Linked DNA regions of Homo sapiens: regions 1, 3, 4 and 5 are each linked to region 2. The links are contacts of gene promoters, found by promoter capture Hi-C in blood cells and fetal thymus (Javierre and others, 2016). All regions are on one chromosome and are shown on one strand. Each heading gives the region's core, a stretch centred on a gene start or on the middle of the fragment in contact. The rest is flanking DNA. Distances are from core to core; before and after follow the strand shown. Region 1 has its middle 17 kb from the start of OR7E24. Region 2 holds the start of ZNF266 (zinc finger protein 266). Region 3 has its middle 23 kb from the start of ZNF699. Region 4 has its middle 19 kb from the start of OR7D4. Region 5 overlaps ZNF561-AS1 (ZNF561 antisense RNA 1).

Region 1 (5,024 bases), core at 1,797-4,296, 170 kb after region 2:
ATAGGGATTTTTCAGCTCCCTTAAAATCTTACGGAACCACCACTGTGTATGTAGTCTGGTCATTGAAACATCCTTATGCGGTGCATTACTGAAATCTTGAAACTTGAAATACCCATAATATCTTGGGCAATGTCAGGGAAATGCACTAATGGGAAGGGCAGTCCCCAAGCTGTAAACACAAAGAAAAACAATGATGACACATTGTGGACCGGCAAGATGATCCCTTGATAACTGAGTGGAAATCGGAAGCTGCAGGGGAGATTTGTTGTTCTCAGGCATAGAGTGGCTGCTGGTTGGCCTGATGTCAATGGCAGGACTCTACAGGGGTAAGAGAATCCAGGGAGGCTTCTGTGCACTGCTTGGTCAGGTGGGTACTCAATGTAGAAGAAGTTCTGCCCAAGTGCCAGTTTTTCCTTCCAGACATTTTTTTTTTTTTGGAATTTTTTGGTTGTGATCATAGTGGTGTGATGAATTGGGAATTATGCTGGATATCTGCAGAGTGTTGCTGTGCTTAGAGTACAAAACCCTGATAGAAGATGAAGCCTGCGGGTGGCTCCTAAGACCCTTCCAAGGGTCCCTCCCTCCTAGTTTTCATGCCCGAGTGTCATCTCCTCTTCTTGAGTGTGGGCTGGACTCCATGAGTAGCTTCTGATGACAAGAATATGGGGATCTCTGTGTTCCGATTGAAGGTTGAAACAACAGTAGCTTTTTTTTTTTTTAACTGCCACTCTGTGGCCCTGTTGCTTGATGTTTTAAAATAAAAAAAAACCTATTATTTATTTTTGCATAATGAAGTATTGAACAATCCATTGCTTGATATTAATGGGAGTTAACTGCTCCATCAAGAGGACTAGAATAGACATTTCTCTAAAGAAGATAAACAAATAGACAATGAGCATACAGAATGGCCGGGTGCAGTGGCTCACGCCTGTAATGCCAGCACTTCGGGAAGCCAAGCTGGGTGGATTGCTTGCAGTCAGGAGTTTCTGTTCTGAAAGAGAAATATATTGATGCATGACGGTGGTGGTTGCACAACACTGTGGATGTACTTAATGCCAGCAAACTGTACAGTGAAAAGTGGTTAAAATGGTATTGGTTACCATTTTGAAGAGGATAAATGGTAAAATGTTACTTACCATTTTGTATAAACCTATATTTATAATTTTTATATTGAATGTGGTACATTTTGCCAGGATAAAAATATGAAAACTTAAAAAAGATGCATCCTTGAAAAAGAAAAAGAAATGAAAGAAGTGAACGATGAACACAAGCTTTCTCCTCATTAGAGGAAGAGCCCAAAAGTTCCTGGGGACGTTCATTTTTTCTGCTTTATCTTGCATTAATGAGGAAGTCCTTAAAGACTGGGGAACTTGGGCCAGTTTGGCTAATGAGGAGCTCTGTGCCTTGAGCCCCCAAGGCCATAGGACAGTAAATACTCAGCCTGTGCCTCCAGCCCTGCAGTGTGAGCTTCCAGTCCAGTGGGCTCCACACCTGTCGTCTGCATCAGGAGGCTCATGTCTGACCCTGTCTTCCTGCCAGTCCTGAGGACGGAGCCTGAGCCTCCATCGTGCACCACACAGGGAGGACGGCGGACCTGCTCTCCGTGGTCATGGCCCAGCAGAGGGGAAGCGCAGCTCAGTGAGTGCTGAGGGATGGTCGGGAGCCTTGTTTCCTCATCCTCAGGACAAACAGGACAGTGGGGTGGCAGATGGGAGGAAACCCACGTGCAAAATGTCAGCTCAGACGACCGTGGAGTTTATGTTCTGGGTTGTGATTGGTCTCAGAAATCTCATTCAAAGTTTAACTTTTCTTCCACACTGGTTCAACTTCCCAAAGACATCTCACTCGTAATAGCGTGTTCCCTAAGCATGCCAAAAGGATTATGAAGGTGATGATGAGGATGAGGAGGAAGACGATGGTCACCAGGCTATCATGAACTTTTACTGAGGACTTCTTGATGTTCTATGAAGCCTGTTCTCTTTCATCTGCTTAGTCTTCCCTGAATTATACCTGCCGCATTATTCTTAATTATAGAATAGGAAAGGAGCCGTCTAAGTCCAGACACATGGCATTGGGCCAGGCCTCTCTCTGAGTCCAACCTGCCCTCTCAAATCCCTGTCAGTCCTGGCAGATGCCCTTGCTCACTGTGCCCTTCCCTTGGGGGGTTCCTGGTAGACCACAGCTAGACTAGAGGGTGCTACATTCATAGTATCACGTATAGAAAGGGCAGCTGAGATCACATCAAAGATCCCAGAAAGAACTGGCACAGGATCATTCAGGGTGCATCTCTCCCTTTCCCCCGTTCCTGGCTTTCCTTGCAGCTCTCCACCTCCTCAAAGGAGACATAAAATCAGGGTCTTGGCTCCATTTCTATTCAGGAAGCTGGAACTCGTTTCTAAATGCACCCCAGAAGTGCCTGTAGTTAAGACCTCCCACCTCTGCTTAAGACTTTCTGAGAGCTGAACAATAATGAAGAAGGGTAGTGCCTGGGCCTCAGAGACGGACCATTTAGTTTTGAATCTGCCCATTTCCCTGAACTCTGTGACACGGGGTGAGATCTCTGTGTCTCTGAGACTCAGCACTATCATCTGAGCTGATTTCTAGTTGACCCAACTACAGTGAGTGATGATTCAACAGATCATGGGTGTTCTCTGCTGATCTCTATGTGATGGATACATAAAACCAAAGTGAATTTTGATATTCTTATTACTATTTTAAGCTTAATCTTCATACAATTGAACTGAAATGTCCTCTGGCCTGAAGTTACAGTTCCCTACATCCCTGACAGGACATTTGACATTTGCACCTATCTAAGTAAGTGCTGAGTATTATGAGAGGAATGTTTGCATCTCTTTCGTTTCTGATCCCCCAGAGCCTATATCTTGCCAGTCCCAAAGGAGGCATCAAAAATAAAGTTCCCCGTTAAATACTGGATAGGCCCTTCCTTGGATCACAAAAAATTGGCTGTGATTAGTGTGACCTCAACACAGTTGGTGGTTTCTTGTCTGTCCCCTCATCCCTTTAGGAATGTCTAATAAAATGAGATACAAGATAACACCTGTTTATGTCTATGTCACAGACACAGGGACCTTAGAATTCCATTTAATAGCATCTGCAATGTTCAAGTACCTAAATACCATCGCAGAGATTTTTGTAGCTATATCAGAATGAAGAAAGGCACAAAGAGAAGAGGGCAGGTAGACCTGATTCTCGTGCTTAGACACAATTTTGAGTTTCGCATCATTCCAGGCTAAAATAAAATAAAGAGAAAATGTTATTAAACTTCATTATTATTTAGTGATGACACATGCATTACACATTATCGATAGCTGTGTGGTTGCTGAAGGCCTATGATTATGTGCAACAAAGCTTTCTTATCAAAACCCAAAGAAAACATGAGCCAAGGACAAGAGCTATATATTAAATAAATTTGGAAACATAGCTCCTATATTTGAGTGTGCATTTACTTGTGTGAAGAAATGATGTCAGAAAACCTAAGAATGATAAAAAATATGAAAAGTAATTGGCATGTAAAAAGGTCTTCTGATTATGAACTAGCAGGTCTGTTTTAGTTTCTAGATAATGTGCTCCTAGCTCTTGTATAGTGTTTATAAATATTCTACATCCAAGGAGTTTGTAGCACAGTGTCAGAATAAAATGAATTATATTTCACTGCTTCTTAATTTCTTTTAATTAAATTGGGCTTTTTTTTTCTTAGAAAAGTACATTTCTTATTTTTTTTTTCTGAAAAGACTAGGCCATGTTTTATTGCAATCATGGATTTGTTATATATTACGTCCTTGATCTTTTAACATTCTTCAGTGGATTTTCTCTGAAGTAGGTATATACAGAAAGAGTTGAATAGCAAAAAAGTAAATCATGTAATAATTCTGAGATTTTTGGGTTTCTCACAATGGAGAAATATTGCTGAGGGTGTATGGTCTTCAAGTGTGAAAATGTTACTTGTGAATTGCTTGTATCCAAAATATGCACACAGCAGTAAGTGCTGATTTATGTCTTTTATTTTTTCAACCCTCTTTTCTTCTCAAGGTGTCCAAGTTACACAGACTCGCAGAATCTCACAGGTGTCTTAGAATTTCTCTTCCTGGGACTCTCAGAGGATCCAGAACTGCAGCCCGTCCTCGTTGGGCTGTTCCTGTCCATGTACCTGATCACGGTGCTGGGGAACCTGCTCATCATCCTGGCCGTCAGCTGTGACTCCCACCTCCACACCCCCATGTACTTCTTCCTCTCCAACTTGTCCTTGGCTGACATCGGACTCACCTCTGCCACCATCCCTAAGATGATTGTTGATATGCAATCTCACAGCAGAATCATCTCCTATGAGGGCTGCCTGATGCAGATGTCTTTATCTATTTTGTGTGTATGAATGACATGGTCCTGACTGTGATGGCCTATGACCAGTTTGTGGCCATTTGTCACCCCCTACGCTACCCAGTCATCATGAATCCCCATCTCTGTGTCTTCTTAGTTTTGGTGTCTTTTATTCTTAGCCTGTTGAACTCCCAGCTGCACAATCAGATTGTGTTACAATTCACCTGCTTCAAGAATGTGGAAATCTTTAATTTTTTCTGTGAGCCATCTCAACTTCTCAACCTTGCCTGTTCTGACAGTGTCATCAATAACATATTCATGTATTTAGATAGTGTTATATTTGGTTTTCTTCCCATCTCAGGGATCCTTTTGTCTTACTATAAAATTGTCTCCTCCATTCTAAGAATTCCATCATCAGATGGGAAGTATAAAGCCTTCTCCACATGTGGCTCTCACCTGGCAGTTGTTTGCTTATTTTATGGAACAGGACTTGGAGCCTACCTCAGTTCAGCTGCGTCCTCTTTCCCCAGGAAGGGTGCGGTCACCTCAGTGATGTACACTGTGGTCATCCCTATGCTGAACCCCTTCATCTACAGCCTGAGAAACAGGGACATTAAAAGTGCCCTGTGGAGGCTGCACAGCAGAACAGTCTAATCTCATTATCTGTTCCATCCTTTCTGTAGTGGGGG
Region 2 (4,684 bases), core at 1,520-4,019:
CGTGGTGGCTTATGCCTTTGTGGAGGCCGAGGCGGGCAGGTTGCTTGAGCTTAGGAGTTTGAGACCAGCCTGGGCAAAACCCTGTCTCTACAAAAAAATACAAAAATTAGCTGGGTGTGGTGGCTTATGCCTGTGGTCCTAGTTGCTCAGGAGGCTGAGGTGGGAGGATCGCTTGAGCCTAGGAGGTAGAGGCTGCAGTGAGCTGTGATTTCTCAAAAAATAAAAGCCAGTATGCACAAAAAGATATATGTGAATTTTCATAGCAGCATTAATCACAACACCCCCAAAGTGGAAACAAACCATATGTCCATCAACTGAAGACAAATCATATATGGTATATACATAGAATGGAATATCATTCAGCAATAAAATAGAATGATCTAGGCTATAATACAGATGAACCTTGAAAAACGGGCTAAGTGAAAAAAGTTATTCACAAAAGATTGTATGATTTTTAGGCCGGGCATGGTGGCTCACGCCTATAATCCCAGCACTTTTGGAGGCCGAGGCAGGACTACTTAAGCCCAGGAGTTCGAGATCAGCCTTGCAACATAGTGAGACCCTGTCTATACAAAAATAAAAATAAATTGTATGAGTATATCCATATGAAATGTCTACAAAAGAAAAATCTGTAGTGATAAAGTAGGTTTGTGGTTCCCTGGAGCTTAAAGAGGAGGTAAATGGGTTTTCCCATTCAAAGATTTCTTTTAGTGTGATTAAAATGTTCCAAAATTATGTTTGAACAACACTGCGAATGTACTAAAAAATATTGAATTATATAGCTTTAAGTGGGTGAACTGTGTTGGTTATATGTGAATTGTATCTCAATACAGCTGGTCTAAAAACCAAAAGGGAAAAATCACAATAATAGCCACATCATTGGGAGCGTAAAAATTTAATGTCTATTAAGCATTTAGGGTAGTAAGATTTAAAAAACAGCTACCGCCAGGTGCGGTGGCTCACACCAGCACTTTCAGAGGCTGAGGTGGGCAGATCACCTGAGGTTAGGAGTTTGAGACCACCCTGGCCAACATGGCGAAACCCCATCTCTACTAAAAAAAAAAAAAAAAAAAAATACAAAAATTAGCTGAGCGTGGTGGCGCGTGCCTATAATCCCAGCTACTCAGGAGACTGAGAAAGGAGAATCCCTAGAACTCAGGAGGTGGAGGTTGCAGTGAGCCGAGATCGTACCACTGTATTCCAGCCTGGGTGACAGAGCAAGACTGTCTCAAAAACAAACAAACAAAAAAGCTACCATTATTATTATTATTACCACGGAATATTATTAGTTGATACAAAACCACTGGAATGAAAAGATTATGATCTTGATATTGGCATAAGTAAATGTATTACTGGCATAGAGTCTAGAATCAGATACAGGTATACATAGGAATTTATAGTTTAATAAACATGGAATTTGAAATCAGTAAATCAAGGACAGTTTATCAATATGTGGTACTACAATAATTGGCCGTGTTTCTGGAGGAAAGAGATATTGTATCCACTATCCCACACCACATACTGAAACACATTCCATGAGTATGAAAGATTTCAATGTTTTTAAAGTAATATGCTGCAGAAGAAAATTAGGAAATCTATATGTAATCTAGAGTTTATGAAGACTTCTTAATGCAAGAGAGGAAACTTAAAAAAGAAAATCTTTTTGAGTTGAAAAATTAACTGCAAAATAGTTACCAGTTCAGTAGATTCACAAAATATTTGATAATGTACATGAACAGTTCTTCATGTTAGTAAAACAGTGTTCAAAATAACTTTATTAACTCCATAAAGGCCACCCACTACAAAGCACAGCAAAAACGATTTCTGGAGAAACTAGAATCACTCCTGCAGAAGTGAATGCCTGATATCAGTGCTATTTTACAACGCGGTATTTTACAACGAGGCCCTGGAACTCACTGTAAGATCTCAGAAAACAATATATTAGTCAAAGAAAAAAAAATCAACATTTACAAAAAGTATCAGCATATTGAATACACAAAGGAATCAACTATTAGAATTTAGCATGGCGTCCAGATAAATGAAATAAGGGGAAATATTGGCCTCAAGTTGAATTGGGCCCGGCGCCGTGGTGCACGCCTGTAATCCCAGCCTTTTGGGAGGCTGAGGCGGGATGATTGTTGGAGCCCAGGAGTTTGAGATCAGCCTGGGTAACATACCTCAACTCTGGGGGAAAAAAAATTAGCCGGGCATGGTGGCCTGCGCCTGTAGACCCAGCTACTCGGGAGGCTGAGGCGGGATGATGGCGTGAGCCCATGAGTTTCGCCCCACAGCACGCCAGCCTGGACTACACAGTGAGACCCTGTCTCAAACAAAAACAAAATAAAAAACTAAAACTAGATTGAATGAATGGAGGAGATAGGCCATATCATGGACTGGCAGGATTATCAAAGGAAGCATCATTTTGAGGGTGCTAGGAACGTGGGAGGAGGTGAGAATAAAAGCTTTTTGTGAGCATTGTGCACATCCTGTGGGGGAGCCCCCACCTCTAACTTTGCCAACACCACCGACCCCACCCTAGGTTAGCCCCGTCCGCAGGGCTGGTTCTAACCTCAGCCTTGTGCTCTGGGCCCCTTTTGGCCTCCATCCCTCAAGGTGAGCAGACTCCAAGGCCTCCAAGGCGTCTCCGTAGCCACTGGGGAGTAAACCAGAATCTCTCTGCCTGAGGTTGTTCAGCTCGGCTGAGGTTGCAGTTCCCGAGCGCTCCTCCAGGTTTGAGGCTGGAGGCGGAAGTGACGTCACGGAGCGCTGCTGTGTTTTCCGGCGCTTTCTCCGCGCCGCCAAACCCGTTTTCTTCCTGGTGGCGTTTGGGCTTAATACAGCTTTGGCGAGGTCGGATGACGGGTGGGAGCCAGCGGTGGAAGGGGTGGCGAAAGTACCGGTTTGCCCCAGGCCGCCGAGGGGCCTCCTTAGAGAGACCTTGCCTGCTCCGCTCGCGTCCGCCGGGGCCGCGCGGGTCCTCCTGGCGCCGCCAGGTTCAAAAAGCCACTCGAGTTGTCACTGCGACGGCCCTGGGCCAGGAGCCGTTTCGGGATCTGTCGTAAGGGCGCTTCCTCACGATTTTTGCAAACACGGTGATTGCCGCTTCAAACTCTTCCAAAGCAATTCTTTGTGACTTTTTTTTTTCCAGAAACAACGAGTTTTCGTCGTTCGAATCAGGTTGACTGGTCCTTCATCCCCCCAATCTCCCGTACCTGGCGAGTCCAGCTCGTCGCGGTGAGTACTGGGGTGAAAGTTGGTTTCGGGGGCTTCTTCCTCCTGTTTTATCTGAGAATTTGTTTTTCTCTTTGCGCATCCTGTATTTACTTTTGACACTCTACATTCAGGTAGAAACATAAAGCTATTTTTTAGGTATCTGGGGTGTGGTTATTTCTCTATGTGAATATAAACGTTTGTAGACCAGAAGTCTTTCTACTGAAGAAAAGCAAGAATACTCAGCTATTCTTTTTATCTGAACTTCCTAGGCCTGTACCTCCCCACAGAGCTTCAAAACGGGCTTTTAGGAAGAAGGAATGGAGGCTTTGAAGTAAGTTGAACATTGCAGGCGTGACACTTAAGGTTTAAATGCTTGGTAATACGTGTCCTGTGGATAAAGACATGTCCTTTTAAAACCATAATACTATTACCCCAGAAAATTTAAAATGTTGTTAATATGTACCCTGTGTAAAAAGGTACAGTTCTCCACTTTGTTCCAATATATGGTTTTGATTGTTTTGGGATCTATTACGTATCCAAGTTTCATGTCTTTTAGTCTCTTTAAAACTAGCAGACACTGTTTATCCGTTATATTGTCTTTTTGCGCAGTCACTCGTTCTTTCAGAAAGTTATACATTTTGGTAGTTCTGATTGTATTCTGTGCCGTGTTTAAATGTATCCTTCATTTATTGGTGTATCCTGTAAATGGATGAGTGTCTGAATGGTTAATTAAGGCATAGTAAAAAAATTCAGCCTAGGGCTGTTCTTAGGGAGGTTGTAAACTAGTGGAGGAGGCTGTCATGTAACCAAGCAAATAAGTGTATTACAAATTGATGAAGGTCTGTAAGTAAAGTAGAGGACAGAATTATTTTCTCTATTTTTCTTTGGAATAGGCAATGCTAAGAAAAGAGTGATATGCAAGCTGAGACCAAAAATATGGTATGATTTAGCCATACTGAAGGGGAAGGAAATAAGAGCTGGGCAAAGCATTCTGTGAATTGGCTGACTCCACTTCTATGGTGAGAGAGAGGAGTGCATCAAAGATTACTCCCAGGTTTGACAGAGTCAGTATTCTTTCTTTGGTTGGGGAAACAATGTGGTGGGATAATTTAATCTTAAATGTATGACAGGAAATAGTAAGTGATATCTTTTGGGAGACAGAGTTTCGCTGTTGCCAGGCTCCAGTGCAGTGGCAGGATCTCGGCTCACTGAAACACTGTAACCTCCACCTCTTGGGTTTTCAAGCCATCCTCCTGCCTCAGCCACCCTAGTAGCTGGGATTACAAGTGTGCGCCACCATGCCTGGCTAATTTTTGTATTTTTGTATTTTTTTTTTTTTTAGTAGAGATGGTTTCAGCATGTTGGCCAGTCTGGTCTCAGACTCCTGACCTCAAGTGATCCACCCACCTCGGCCTCCCAAAATGCTGGGATTACAGGTATAAGCCACTGTGCCTGGCCAAAGTAAGTGATA
Region 3 (4,656 bases), core at 784-3,283, 150 kb after region 2:
TTTTTAGTAGAGACAGGGTTTCACCATGTTGGCCAGGATGGTCTCGATCTCCTAACCTTGTGATCCACCCGTCTCGGCCTCCCAAAGAGTTATTATTATTACTATTATTATTATTATTTTTGAGACAGAGTCTTGCTCCGTCACCCAGGCTGGAGTGCAGTGGCATGATCTCAGCTCACTACAACCTCTGCCTCCTGGGTTCAAGTGACTCTCCTGCTTCAGCCTCCTGAGTAGCTGGGATTACAGGTGCACACCACACCTGGCTAACTTTTGTATACTTTCTTTAGTAGAAACGTGGCTGGTAACACAAGGTGATATTCACACAAGTGCATAAAATGGTCAGGAGGTAGAGAAAAGACTTTTCTGGGACTCCTTGACATGGGAGCCTCATGTACTCTGGTTCCAAGACTGGTAATGGAGTCCTAACAGGGGCTATAGTTAGATTGCGAGGATATGGAAATACAATTGTTGATGGGATTATGGTGAATATTTGAAAATTAGTGTTTATTATTATTTTGAGACAGGGTCTCACTCTGTCGCCCAGGCTGGAATGCAGTGGTGTGATTATAGCTCACTGCAGCCTGGAACTTCTGGGCTTAAGTGATCCACCCAAGTGGCTAGGACTACAGGCACACACCACCATAACTGACTAATTTTTTACTTTTTTTTTTTTTTGTAGAGATGGGGTCTTGCTATGTTGTCCAGGCTGGAAGACCTGGATTCAAGTGATCCTTCCGCCTCAGCCTCCCAAAGTGCTGGGATCATAGGCATGATATGAGCCACCACGGCTGAGGAATTTTCAAATGTACAATACATTATTATTAACTATAGTCACCATACAGTACAATCAATGTCCAGAAATTTTCTTCCTGTCTAACTGAAATTTTGCACCCTTTGACCAACATCTTCCCATTTCTCCACCCCATCCTCCAGCCCGTGGTATCAACCATTCTACTCTCTGCTGCCGAGAGTTTGACTTTTTTGATTCCACATATCAGTGAGATCATGCAGTATTTATTATCATTTTTATTTCAATAGGTTTTTGGGGAACAAGTGGTGTTTGGTTACATGAATAAGTTCTTTAGCGGTGATTTCTGAGATTTTGGTGTACCCATCACCCGAGCAGTGTACACTGTTAACCAATGTGTAGTCTTTTATCCCTCACCCCTCCCACCCTTTCCCCCAAGTCCCCAGAGTCCCATGTATCATTCTTATGTCTTCATGTAGTCATAGCTTAGCTCCTGATCACACAGTGTTTATCTTTCTGTTCCTGTCTAGTATGTGAGGTGATGGGTATGTTAATTAGCTTTATTTCATCATTCCATAATGTATACATATAACAAAACACATAGTACCCCTTAAATATATACAATTATTATTTGTTGATTAAAAATTTTAAAAAGAGGACCTAAGGTGGAGGCATCACATTTCATGATTTCATTGCTATATTACAAAACTACTGAATCAAAACAGTATGTTAGTGCCATAATAGCAGACACATAGACCAATGGAACACAATAGAGAGCCTAGAAATAACTCCATGTATGTGCAGTCAACTATTTTTCAACAAAGACACTAAGAATACCCAATGGGGAAAGGATAGTCTTTTCAGTAAATGGTGGCGTGAAAACTGGATATCCGTATGCAAAACAGAAAAAAAAGAAGAAATTTGACTCTTATATACAAAAATCAATTGAAAATGCACGAAAAACTTAAATGTAAGACATGAAGCCATAAACCTTCTCAAAAAATATATATAGGGAAAAAGCTCTTTGACATTGGCCTCAGTAATGATTGTTTGCATTTGATCCCAAAAGCAACATGGAGCTGGGCATGATAGCTCACGTTTGTAATCCCAGCACTTTGGGAGGCCAAGGCGGGAGGATTGCATGAGGCCAGGAGTTTGAGACCAACCTGGGCAACATAGTAAGACCCACATTGCTATTAAAAGTAAATAAATAAATAAAAGCAATATGGTTGAACCTTGAAAACATTATGCTAAGTGAAATAAACCAGACGCAAAATGACAAATATTGTATGATTCCACTTATATGAGGAAACATGAACAGGGAATTCATAGACACAGAAGGAGCAATAGAGGTTGCCAGGGCCTGGAAGCAGAGGAGAATGGGAGGTATTATTTCATGCGTATAGGGTTTCCATTCAGAAATGATGAAAAAGAATGGAAGATGGATAGTAGTAATGGTGCACACCATTGTGAATGTACCTAGTGCCACTGAGTCTCCTTTTTTTTTTTTTTTTTGAGATGGAGTCTCACTCTGTCGCCCAGGCTGGAGTGCAGTGTCGTGATCTCGGCTCACTACAACCTCCGCCTCCCGGGTTTAAGCGATTCTCCTGCCTCACCCTCCCTAGTAGCTGGGATTATAGGTGCACACCACCAGGCCTGGCTAATTTTTGTATACTTTTTTTTTAGTAGAAACGTGATTTCACCATGTTGGTTAGGCTGGTCTCAAACTCCCAACCTCAGGTGACCTACCCACCTCAGCCTCCCAAAGTGCTGGGATTACAGGCATGAGCCATCGTGCCCGGCAATGTGCTGCTGAGTCTTACACTTAAAATGGTCAATTTTGTTATACATATTTTACCACAATAAAAATATTAATAAAGGCCAGGTGTGGTAGCTCATGCCTGTAATTCCAGCACTTTGGGAGGCTGAGACAGAAGAATTACGTGAGGCCACAAATTCTAGACAGTCTGGGCAACATAGTGATGCCCTGTCTCTACAAAAAAATAAAAAAAATTAGTGGGGCATGGGGGCGCAGCCTGTACTCCCAGCTACTTGGAAGGCTGAGGTGAGAGGATAATTTAAGCTCGGGAATTTGAGGCTGCAGTTAGCTGAGATTGCGCCACTGCACTCCAGCCTTAACAAGAGTGAGACCTTGTCTCAAAAAGAAAAAAAAATTAATAAAAACTTTATTATTTATTTATTTTAGATTAATAAAAACTTTAATAAATAAAACTGTTGTAATTTTTTTTTTTCTGAGACAGAGTCTCACTCTGTCCCTCAGGCAGAGAGCAATGGTGCGATCTCAGCTCATTGCAACCTCCGCCTCCCAGGTTCAAGCAATTCTGTTTCCTCAACTTCCTGAGTAGCTAGGATTACAGGCGTGTGCCACCACGCCTGGCTAATTTTTGTATTTTTAGTAGAGACGGGGTTTCACCATGTTGGCCAGGCTGGTCTCAAACTCCTGACCTCATGATTCACCCGCCTCGGCCTCCCAAACTGCTGGGATTACAGGCGTGAGCCTCCGTGCCCGGCCAACTGTTAAAATTTTTTTTAAAAAGTAGATTCTTAGGTCCTCCCTTGGAGATATTGACACGGTAAGTCTGGGATAGAGTGGGAAGCTATTACCCTGGGATCCCCCAGGGTAGCATGGTGAAACCCTGTCTCTAAAAAAAAAAAAAAAAAAAAAAAAAGAAAAGTAAAAACTAGCTGGGCATGTTGGTGCACTCCTGTAGTCCCAGCTACTCAGGAGGCTGTTGTGGGAGGATTGCTTGACCCCAGGAAGTTAAAGCTGCAGTGAGCTGTGATCACACCACTGCACTCCACCGTGGTGACACAGCAAGACCCTGTCTCAAAAACAAAAACAAAAAACTATAGTATTTTTTTTTTAAAGTAGACTCTTAGGTCTTCCTTTGGAGATCTTGGCAAGGTAAGTCTGGGATAGGGTAGGAAGCTATCTGTTCACAAGATCCCCTCTTTATACCTTTGATAAATCTCAATTTGTGAAGCACTGCCCCAGGACACTGGTTCCCAAAAAGATTGTCCTGGGGACCATCACATCTAGAATGTGTCCCAAATGCAAATTATGACTCAAATTTAGACCTACTGGGACAGAAACTTGAAAGTGGGTTCTAGCAATCTGTGTTTAAACAAGTCCTTGAGGTCATCTGGTGCGGGCTCCCTTTTGAGAACCACTACCTTTTTGTGAATCCTGGGACCCTTTGCTACCCAACTATCTGCCTAATTAGGAAACCTCAAGTCAGAAAATGCTGCCCAGGTGTGGTGGCTCACGACTGTAATTCCAGCACTTTGGGAGGCCAAGATGGGCAGATCACTTGAAGGCAGGAGTTCAAGATCAGACTGCCAGCACGGTGAAACCCCATCTCTACTAAAAATACAAAAGTTAGCCGGGCATGGTGGCACGCGCCTGTAATCCTAGCCACTTGGGAGGCTGAGGCAGGGGAATCGCTTAACCTGGGAGGTAGACATTGCAATGAGCCAAGATTTCGCCACTGTACTTCAGGCTGGGTGACAGAGCGAGATTCTGTCTCAAAAAAAAAAAAATTGCTGACAGTTGTCACCAAAGGTGATTCAAAGTAGACTAGAGTGATTCTTCCCAAAGGAGAGGTACAGGAGACGGGAGTCACAGCTGGCCCCATTGATAGTCTCCCAAGAATAAGGAATTGGCCGTTCAGAGACCTCTTCCTGTGTAGTCCCTGCCCATGAGGAACCAAACTGATCAGGGAATGAATACGCCATTGACCAATTTGTCTAACAAGCTTCAGAGGGGATAGACCACCCCAGGGCCCAACATGCAATTCATCTACTTACAGTCACCCAGGCCCCCAGGCGCAAGGTCCAAGACACTCATGCGTTCTCCAGGAGAAATCATCCAGGCCGCGTACCACCTG
Region 4 (4,954 bases), core at 2,162-4,661, 240 kb after region 2:
CAAGTTGTCTGTAGTGCGCAAGGCACCTGTGGATGTTTGAGCATTAATAAAAGTGTTTTTTTTCTTGAGATAGAGTCTTGCTCTGTCGCCCAGGCTAGAGTGCAGTGGCGTAATCTTGGTTCACTGCAACCTCCGCCTCCTAGACTCAAGAGATTCTCTTGCCTCAGCCTCCTGAGTAGTTGGGATTACAGGCGGGTGCCACCATGCCCGGCTAATTTTTTGTGTTTTTAGTAGAGACGGGGTTTCATGTTGGTCAGGCTGATCTCGAACTCCTGACCTCATGATCTGCCCGCCTCGGCCTCCCAAAATTCTGGGATTACAGGCGTGAGTAATGCAATTTTAAGAACACTTTTGCATTACTTTATGTGAGGCTAGAAAGATGTGAAAGTCTAAAATGTGTTTCTGTCTAAGCAATAATGTTTACCTTCCCCTCTTCTTTCTGTCTCTTTCTCTCTTTTTTTCTCAGTATTTCCAGAGATTTTTGGCTTTAAATATTTATTTTATTCTGTGTATATAATTTTTTTGTGAAATGTTCCAAGAAATCAAGGGAATGTACATAATATGTATGTACTTAAAAAAAAAAAAGAACAATAATGAAATACCCAAGTACCTATCCCACAGTTTAACAAATGCAATAAAACCAATCTTTGGGCCGGGCGTGGTGGCTCATGCCTGTAATCGAAGGACTTTAGGAGGCTGAGGCTCAGGATCACTTGAGGTCAGGAGTTTGAGTCCAGCCTGACAAACACGGTGAAACTTCGTCTCTAATACAAAAACTAGCCAGGCGCAGTAGGGCCTGCCTGTAATGCCAGCTACCCGGGAGGCTGAGGCAAGAGAATCACTTGAACCTGGGAGGCGGAGGCTGCAGTGAGCCAAGATCGTGCCACTCCAGCCTGGGTGACACAGCGAGACTCCATCTCAAAAAACAAAACAAAACAAAAAACAATCTTTGGGCCAGGCTCGATGGCTCATGCCTGTAATCCCAGCATTTTGGGAGGCCGAGGTGGGCTGATCACTTGAGGTCAGGAGTTCGAGACCAGCCTGGCTAACATGGTGAAACCCCGCCTCTACTAAAAATACAAAGATTAGCCGGGCGTGGTGGCACACACCTGTAATCTCACCTACTTGGGAGGGTAAGGTATGAGAATCATTTGAACTCAGGAGGCAGAGGTTGGAGTGAGCCAAGATTGCACCACTGCACTCCAGCCTGGGTGACAGAGCAAGACTCACTTTCAAAAAACAAACAAACAAAAACAAAACAAAACAAACAAACAAGAAAAAAAAAGCACAATCTTCGAAGCCGTGCATCCTTCTATGGTTCCAGGCACCCCAGCCCTACGGCACAGGTAACCTCCAATGTGAAATTTGAGTTAATCTCTTCTTTCTTTATACTCTACTCATATATATATATATCCCTAAGTAATGAATCATTTAATTTTGCTTTCTTAAATTTTATGTCAACGAAAGTATAGAGCAGGTATTACTCTGTAACTTGCTTTTTCATTCAGTATTTCTGTAGAGTTATATCCACATTTACACACATAATTATACATCATTTTCTTTTTAAAAAATATTATGGGTACATAGCAGGTGTATATATTTATGAATGACATGAGATATTTTGACACAGGCATACAAGGTACAATAATCGCATCAGGGTAAATGGGGTATCCATCACCTCATGCATTTATCCTTTCCTTGTGCCAAACAATCCAATTACTCTTAGCTATTTTAAAATGTACAATAAATTATTGTTGATTACAGTCACCTAATACTAGATCTCATTCATTGTCTCTAACTATACTTTTGTGTTGCTTAACCATCCTGCACTTTTCCCCTCACCCCCACTCCCCTTCCCAGCCTCTGGTAATCATCCTTCTACTCTCTATCTCCATGATTTCCATTGTTTTAATTTTTAGATCCCACAAATAAGTGAGAACGCGTGAAGCTTATCTTTCTGTGCCTGGCTTATTTCATTTAAATTGATGGCCCCCAGTTCCATCCAAGTTGTTGCAAATGACAGGATCTCTTCCTTTTTTATGGCTGCATAATGCTCTATTGTGCACATGTACACAATTTCTTTGTCCATTCATATGTTGAATGGATGGTGAATGCTTAGCTGCTTCCAAATCATGGCTATTGTGACTAGTGCTGTAATAAACATGGGAGTGCAGATATCTCTTCAATATATGGATTCCCTTATGGGGGGGTATATACTTAGCAATGGAATTGCTGTATCTTTTGTTTGTTTGTTTGTTTTGAGATGGAATCTCGCTCTGTCGCCTAGGCTAGAGTGCAGTGGCGCGACCTTGGCTCACTGCAACCTCCGCCTCCCAGGTCAAGCGATTCTCCTTCCTCAGCCTTCCGAGTAGCTGGGACTACCGGCGCCCGCCACCACGCTCGGCTAATTTTTTGTATTTTTAGTAGAGACAGGGTTTCACCATGTTAGCCAGGATGGTCTCGATCTCCTGACCTCGTGATCCACCCGCCTTGGCCTCCTAAAGTGCTGAGAATACAGGCATGAGCCACCGCACCTGGCCCGGAATTGCTGCATCTTATGGTAGCTCTATTTGTAGTATTTTGAGGAAACTCCAACTCGTTCTCCATAATGGATGGACTAACTTGCATTCCCACCAACAGTGTGCAATTGTTCCCCTTTCTCCACATCCTTGTGAGCATTTGCTATTGCCTGACTTTTTGATAAAAGCCATTCTAAATGGGGTGAGATGATATCTCCTTGTAGTTTCGATTTGCATTTCTCTCTCTCTCTTTTTTTTTTTTTGAGATGGAGTCTTGCTCTGTCACCCAGGCTGGAGTGCAGAGGCACGATCTCAGTTCACTGCAACCTCTGTCTCCCAGGTTCAAGTGATTCTCCTGCCTCAGCCTCCTGAGTAGCTGGGATTACAGGTGCCCACCACCATGCCCAGCTAATTTTTGTATTTTCAGTAGAGATGGGGTTTCACCATGTTGGCCAGGCTGGTCTCAAACTCCTGACCTCAAGTGATCCACCCGCCTCAGCCTCCCAAAGTGCTGGGATTACAGGCATGAGCCAATGCGCCTGACCTGCATTTCTCTTAAAAGAGATTTTTATTTCTGATGCCTCCTCTGTGTCAAGCAGGTTAGAGACTCTGGAGAATTAGAGATGAAAGAGACTCAGTTGTTTCTGTCACAATAATCAGTACTTAATTATATAAGGACAAAAATAAAATGTCCTGTGGGAAGTACAGAAACAGTAACTTCAGGTCACAGGATATTTCAGTTGAGTGATATAAAGATTAATCTTAAAATATTAATAACAATTTCTAGAATACACGTTGCCTTTACTTTATGCATCCATCACAAATAGATCCCACAGGGAGCCCCCATGATCTGCTTAATCAATACTGAATGTATCTGTGTCAACTAGAAATCAACTCAGGTGGCAATGTTGAGTCTCAGAAACACTAACATCTTGCCCCCTGCCACACAGATAAGTGGAATAACAGGATTTTAAAAAAATTATAGGTTGATGCAAAAGTAATTGAGGTTTTTGCCATTACTGTTGTCACCAACCTAATAAATGATCAGTCTCTGAGTCTCAGGCATGAACCTTTTTTATGTTTCCCAGCTATCAGAAAGTTGTAAGCAGAGGTAAGAGGTCTTAACCACAGGCACATCGGAGGTGCATTTTCAAACTGTTTCCAGATTCCTGAGTAGGAATGAGGCCAAAACTCTGATTTTATTTCTCCTTTCAGGAGGTGGAGAGCTGCAAGGAAAGCCAGGAACAGGGGCAAGGGAGAGATGCACCCTGAAGGATCCTGTGCCAGTTCTTTCTGGGATCTTTGATGTGATCTCAGCTGCCCTTTCTATACTTGATACAGTGAACGTAGCACCCACTGGTCTAGCTGTGGTCTACCAGGAACCCACTGGTAAGCAGTGAGCACACCAGGGGTCCAGAGTGACAGGGATTCGAGAGGGCAGGTTGGATGCAGGAAGAGGCCTAGCCAAATGCCATGTGCAAGGATTTAGATGGCCTGATTCAAACATGGCTTTACTCCTCTCTACTTCATGAAATACTACAAGTTACATAAAAATGCACAGCTCCTTTCCTCGTGCAAAATAATAATAATGTGTGCACTTATGGATTGCAGAAGGCTATGCAGATAAAATGAAACAAACCACATAGAACACAGAACTGGGCGCCTGGCATTCAGGAAGCCCTCAGGAAAAGTTCATGATGTCATAGTGACTGTCCTCTTCCTCCTCATCCTCATCATCAGCTTCATAATCCTTTTACAGTGTTCATGGAATAGCTTAGAGAGACCTATTTTTTCCTAGCTTCAGTGAGATGTCTATAGCAAGTAGAACCAGTGGAGGGAGAAAGTAAAACTTTGAGTGAGATTTCAGAGTCCCCACCACAATCAAGAACATAAACTCCACAGTTGTCTGAGCTGATATTTTGCACATTGATGTCCTCCTATCTGCCACTCCACTGTCCTGTTTGTCCTGAGGATGAGGAAAGAAGGCTCCCGACCATCCCTCAGCACTCACTGAGCTGCGCTTCCCCTCTGCTGGGCCATGATCATGGAGAGCAGGTCCGCTGTCCTCCCTGCGTGGTGCACGATGGAGGCTCAGGCTCCGTCCTCAGGACTGGCAGGAAGACAGGGTCAGACATGAGCCTCCTGATGCAGACGACAGGTGTGGAGCCCACTGGACTGGAAGCTCACACTGCAGGGCTGGAGGCACAGGCTGAGTATTCACTATGCTATGGCCTTGGGGGCTCAAGGCACAGAGCTCCTCATTAGCCAAATTGGCCCAAGTTCCCCAATCTCTAAGGACTTCCTCATAATAATTCAGGAAGAAGAAGAGAAAAATGAGTGTCCATAGAAGCTTTTGGGCTCTTCCTCTAATCAGGAGAAAGCTTGTGTGTATTATTCACTTTTTTCTTTTCTTTGTAAAGATCCAAATGCTTCAA
Region 5 (4,719 bases), core at 1,600-4,099, 190 kb before region 2:
TTGTGCATCAAAGCATAATAACAAGAGAGTAAAAAGACAATCTACAAATGGGAGAAAATATTTGCAAGTCCTGTATCTGACTGGGGACAAATATCCAGAGTTTATTTTTAAAATTTCTAGAACCCAAGAGTAACAACAACAAAACTCATTTCAATACAGAAAAAGGACTTGAATAATATCACCAAAGAAGATATACAGATGGCCAATAAACACACGAAAAGATGCTCATGAAACGATGCTCAACATCACTAAACATCATGAAAATGAAAATCAAAACCATGCTGGATGTGATGGCTCACACCTGTAATCCCAGCACTTCGGGAGGCTGAGGCCAGGGGATTCCTTGAGATTAGGACTTCAGGACCAGCCTGGGCATATGGTGAAATATGGTCTTTACAAAAAAATTTTTTTTAATTCAGCCAAGGATGGTGGTGGCATGCACCTGTAATCTCTGCTACCTGGGAGGTTGAGGTGGGAGGATTACCTGAGCCCAGTAAGTTGAGGACTGCAGTGATCCATGATCACGTCACTGCATTCGAGCCTAGACAATAGAGTGAGACCCTGTCTCAAAAAAAAGAAAAAAAAAGAACGATTAAACAGAATTACCATGTGATCCAGATATTCCACTTTGGCATATCCAAAACTGTTCAGAGCAGGGACTCAGAGATATTTGTACACCAATGTTTGTCTCACTAGTATTCACAATAGCCTACCCCTGCCAAACTGCAATTTTAACACACTGGATTGTTTGAAACATAGCCTGAACAAGCCTATTTTTAGCCATTTCGAGTGCGCCTGCTTTGTATTCTCTGAAATTATATCCAATATCTGACAGCCATAGATAAGATAACTCCAGGGCTATGAAAACCCCATACCCCTGCGGTCCTTCAGAGCTTTTTTTTTTTTTTTTTTCTGATGCAGGGTCTTGCTCTGCCACCCAGGCTGGAGTACAGGGGCACAATCTCAGCTCACTGCAGCCTCCATCTCCTGGGTTCAAGCGATTCTCCTGCCTCAGCCTCCCAAGTAGCTGGGATTATAGGCACCTGGCACCATACCTGCTAATTTTTGTATTTTTAGTAGAGACGGAGTTTCACCATATTGGCCAGACTTATCCTTCAGAGCTTTTTAACTGGAAGATATGCTGCCAGTCTGGTGAATATCATCATTTAGTTATTTATAAGCCCCCTCTTTGATTCCCCTTCTCCTCTGAGAGTCTTTCTTCCTTTCCACCCTTTCTGAGCAGCGACCCACAGGTAGAAGCCTGTGGATATTCTCTTGCTGTTTGCTACCTCCCCCACTGCTAACCTGTCAAAGCACATCCCAAATGAAGCTTGTGTGCTACTGCCGCCTTGTGGTAACATCTTTTTCCTTACTCAGCCAAGAAATCACTTAAACACCCTAAATACGTGTGTGGTTTTATTTTTTACACTTAGATCCCTAGTCCACTTGGAGTTTATTCTTGTATATGCTGTGAAGTATGGATTTAATTTCATCTTTTCTCAGATGGCTAACCAGCTATCTTAGACCTTCCATTTGTTACAAATGGCATTTTTTGCCCCATTTATCTGAAATGCCACTTTTTTTTTTTAGACGGTGTTTCTCTCTTGTTGCCCTGGCTGGAATGCAATGGCACGATCTCCACTCACCCCAACCTCCGCCTCCTGGGTTCAAGCGGTTCTCCTGCCTCAGCTTCCTGAGTACCTGGGATTATAAGCATGTGCCACCATGCCCAGCTAATTTTGTATTTTTAGCAGAGACGGGGTTTCTTCATGTTGGTCAGGATGGTCTCTAACTCGTGACCTCAGGTGATCCACCCGCCTCTGCCTCCAAAAGTGCTGGAATTATAGGCATCAGCCAATGCACCCGGCTTTTTTTTTTTTTTTTTTTTTTTTTTTTGAGACAGAGTCTCGCTGTGTCGCCAGGCTGGAGTGAAATGGCGTGATCTCGGCTCACTGCAACCTCTGCCTCCCAGGTTTGAGCAATTCTCTTGCCTCAGCCACCCGAGTAGCTGGGCTTACAGGCGCCCACCACAACGCTTGGCTAATTTTTTTTTTTTTTTTTTTAGACGGAGTCTCGCTCTATCGCCAGGCTGGAGTGCAGGGGAGCGATCTTGGCTCACTGCAACCTCCGCCTCCTGGGTTCAAGCGATTCTCCTACTTCGGCCTCCTGAGTAGCTGGGATTACAGGCACCCGCCACCATGCCAGCTAATTTTTCTATTTTTAGTAGAGACGGGGTTTCACCAAGTTGGCCAGGATGGTCTCGATCTCGTGACGTCGTGATCTGCCTGCCTCAGCCTCCCAAAGTGCTGGGATTACAGGCATGAGCCAGCATGCTCGGCCATGCTTGGCTAAATTTTTTTTCTTTTTTGAGACAGAGTCTCACTCTGTTGCCCAGGCTGGAGTGCAGTGGTGCGATCTCAGCTTACTGCAACCTCCGCCTTCTGGGTTCAAGCAATTCTCCTGCCTCAGCCTCCTGAGTAGCTGAGATTACAGGCATGCATCACCACACCCAGCTAATTTTTGTATTTTTAGTAGAGATGGGATTTCACCATGTTGGTCAGACTAGTCTCGAACTCCTGACCTCATGATCCGGCTGCCTCGGCTTCCCAAAGTTCTGGGATTACAGGCATGAGCCACCGAACCCGGCTATGTTTTTGTATTTTTAATAGAGATGGGGTTTCACCATGTTGGGCAGGCTGGTTTTGAACTCCTGACCTCAAGTGATCCTCCTGCCTCAGTCTCCCAAATTGCTAGGATACAGGCATGAGCCACCGCATCTGGCAAAATACATTTATGAACCAAATTTCTACATGTTCATGGGTCTATTTTTTGATATTTTATTAGTTTCTGTTTCACGTGCTAGTACCACATAGTTTTAATTATAGAGGCTTTATAGTATGTTTTTTAAATTAATTAATTAATTAATTTTTTAGACAGAGTCTCACTCTGTCAGCCAGGCTGCAATTCAGTGGCACAATCTCGGCTCACTGCAACCTTCATCTCCCAGGCTCAAGCAACTCTCCTGCCTCAGCCTCCCAAGTAGCTGGGATTACAAGCATGTGCCACCACGCTTGCTAATTTTTGTACTTCTAGTAGAGACAGGGTTTCACCATGTTAGCCAGGCTGGTATCAAACCCCCGACTTCAGGTAATTTGCCTGCCTCGGCCTCCCAAATTGCTGGGATTACAGGCGTGAGCCACTGTGCCCGGACTTTATTTTTATTTTAAAATAATGTAATTCTTTGCCTTGCATGAAAACTGTCAATAGTATGTTTTAATATCTGCTGCTCATCATTGCTTTTGTTTTTGTTTTCTTGGTTATTATCAGATGTTTGTTCCTCCACATAAACTTCAGTATCAATGTACTTAACTCCAGAAAAAAACTTTTGGTATTTTTATTGGGAGTATGTTACATTTCTGAATAATCTTGGGGAGAATGTCTGGTATCAGTGCTATTTTACAACGTAGGAAATGTGTTCCTGGCCCATGTGGTAAGATCAGAAAAATAACAACAGAAATACATATTTTTGGCTGGGGCAGTGGCTCATGCCTGTAATCCCAGCTCTTTGGGAGGACCAGGTGGATGGATCACGAGGTCAGGACTTTGAGACCAGCTGGGTCAATATGATGAAACCATGTCTGTATTAAAAATGCAAAAATTAGTTGGGCGCAGTGGCACATGCCTGTAGTCCCAACTACTCAGGAGGCTGAGGCAGAAGAATGGCTTGAACCCAGGAGGCAGAGTTTGCAGTGAGTGAAGATCGCACCACTGCACTCCAGTCTGGGTGGCAGAGCGAAACTATGTCTCAAAAAAACAAAACAAAACAAAACATTTTTTAATTTAAATTTTTTTTATATATATATAGAGAGATGGGGTTTTGCTGTGTAGCCCAGGCTTGTCTTAAACTCCTGGCCTTAAACGATCCTACCATCTTGGCCTGGCAGATATTTTAGGCCAGGAGTTCGAGATCAGCCTGGCCAACCTGGTGAAATCGTTCTCTACTAAAAATACAAAAATTAGCTGGGCGTGGTGGCAGGCGCCTGTAATCCCAGCTACTCCAGAGGCTGAGGCAGGAGAATTGCTTGAACCTGGGAGGTGGAGGTTGCGGTGAGCTGAGATCACACCACTGCACTCCAGCCTGGTCTGATCCAGTGAGATCTGTCGCAAGCAAGCAAGCAAGCAAGAAAGAAAAAGAAAACCCAATGGAATCAGCAGGTTCTAAAAAATAAAGAATGAAGAAAAAAAGGCCTACAGAAACTCTGACTGAATGGAAGGGATAGACCATGCCATTCATTGGCAGCTTTATCAATATGGAAGAATCATGGAAAGGCTCTAGGAACATGAGGAGAGGCATACAAACAAGCTTTATATTTATATCTAAAAAGTAAAGCAGAGGTTCCTCTTCAAAGACGTTCCTTCACATTTAATTAGGAATAAATAGTAACTTCTCTTAGAAGCAAAATTTATTCAAAGACCTGTGCTAACATTCTCAAGTATCTGTGAGCCGTGATAAAGAAATCAATGTACTTTATATTCTTAGCTCCCACAGTTTAGTCTACATATTTGCCCTGGCATGCTTGTACTGGTCCAGGCAAGCATTAGGGCATAGCCTGTTCTTTTTCCTTATTTGAAGATGTTTTGACCCTTCTCAGCATTCCACAAGTTACTTCCTCCTTCCTTTGTTCTCCTCTACCCTTGCCTCTTTTAAAAAGTTATAAG

Evidence for each region. The method cuts DNA at HindIII sites, captures the fragments that hold promoters and counts their contacts. A CHiCAGO score of 5 or more calls a contact.
Region 1: a contact is called between a fragment that was not itself captured here and the fragment with the promoter of ZNF266 in region 2, in 1 of 17 cell types (activated CD4 T cells). The highest score is 5.9, in activated CD4 T cells.
Region 3: a fragment that was not itself captured here is called in contact with the fragment with the promoter of ZNF266 in region 2 in 1 of 17 cell types (activated CD4 T cells); the score reaches 5.1 in activated CD4 T cells.
Region 4: a contact is called between a fragment that was not itself captured here and the fragment with the promoter of ZNF266 in region 2, in 1 of 17 cell types (megakaryocytes). The highest score is 5.7, in megakaryocytes.
Region 5: a contact is called between a fragment that was not itself captured here and the fragment with the promoter of ZNF266 in region 2, in 7 of 17 cell types (erythroblasts, naive CD4 T cells, fetal thymus and 4 more). The highest score is 8.9, in erythroblasts.

The regions. Positions count from the first base shown.
Region 1 is chr19:9,265,355-9,270,378 of GRCh38, reverse strand. It overlaps the pseudogene OR7E19P. Among named protein-coding and RNA genes, the nearest start is that of OR7E24, 17 kb to the right of the region's middle. The HindIII fragment of the contact is 650 bases long and covers 2,722-3,371 here.
Region 2 is chr19:9,433,658-9,438,341 of GRCh38, reverse strand. ZNF266 (zinc finger protein 266) reads left to right here and starts at 2,769. Exons shown (of 11, transcript NM_001370374.1): 1 at 2,769-3,058; 2 at 3,149-3,234; 3 at 3,483-3,544; 4 at 4,107-4,267; 5 at 4,556-4,674. It overlaps LOC105372269 (a long non-coding RNA gene), which reads right to left and starts at 2,701. Exons shown (of 3, transcript XR_007067133.1): 1 at 2,570-2,701. RefSeq lists an enhancer at 2,849-2,978. The HindIII fragment of the contact is 21,418 bases long and covers 2,465-4,684 here.
Region 3 is chr19:9,284,106-9,288,761 of GRCh38, reverse strand. No RefSeq gene overlaps it. Among named protein-coding and RNA genes, the nearest start is that of ZNF699, 23 kb to the left of the region's middle. The HindIII fragment of the contact is 4,986 bases long and covers 1-4,526 here.
Region 4 is chr19:9,198,100-9,203,053 of GRCh38, reverse strand. No RefSeq gene overlaps it. Among named protein-coding and RNA genes, the nearest start is that of OR7D4, 19 kb to the left of the region's middle. The HindIII fragment of the contact is 2,921 bases long and covers 1,951-4,871 here.
Region 5 is chr19:9,622,626-9,627,344 of GRCh38, reverse strand. ZNF561-AS1 (ZNF561 antisense RNA 1) reads right to left here. Exons shown (of 4, transcript NR_122038.1): 2 at 485-561. Among named protein-coding and RNA genes, the nearest start is that of ZNF561-AS1, 3.5 kb to the right of the region's middle. The HindIII fragment of the contact is 3,033 bases long and covers 1,333-4,365 here.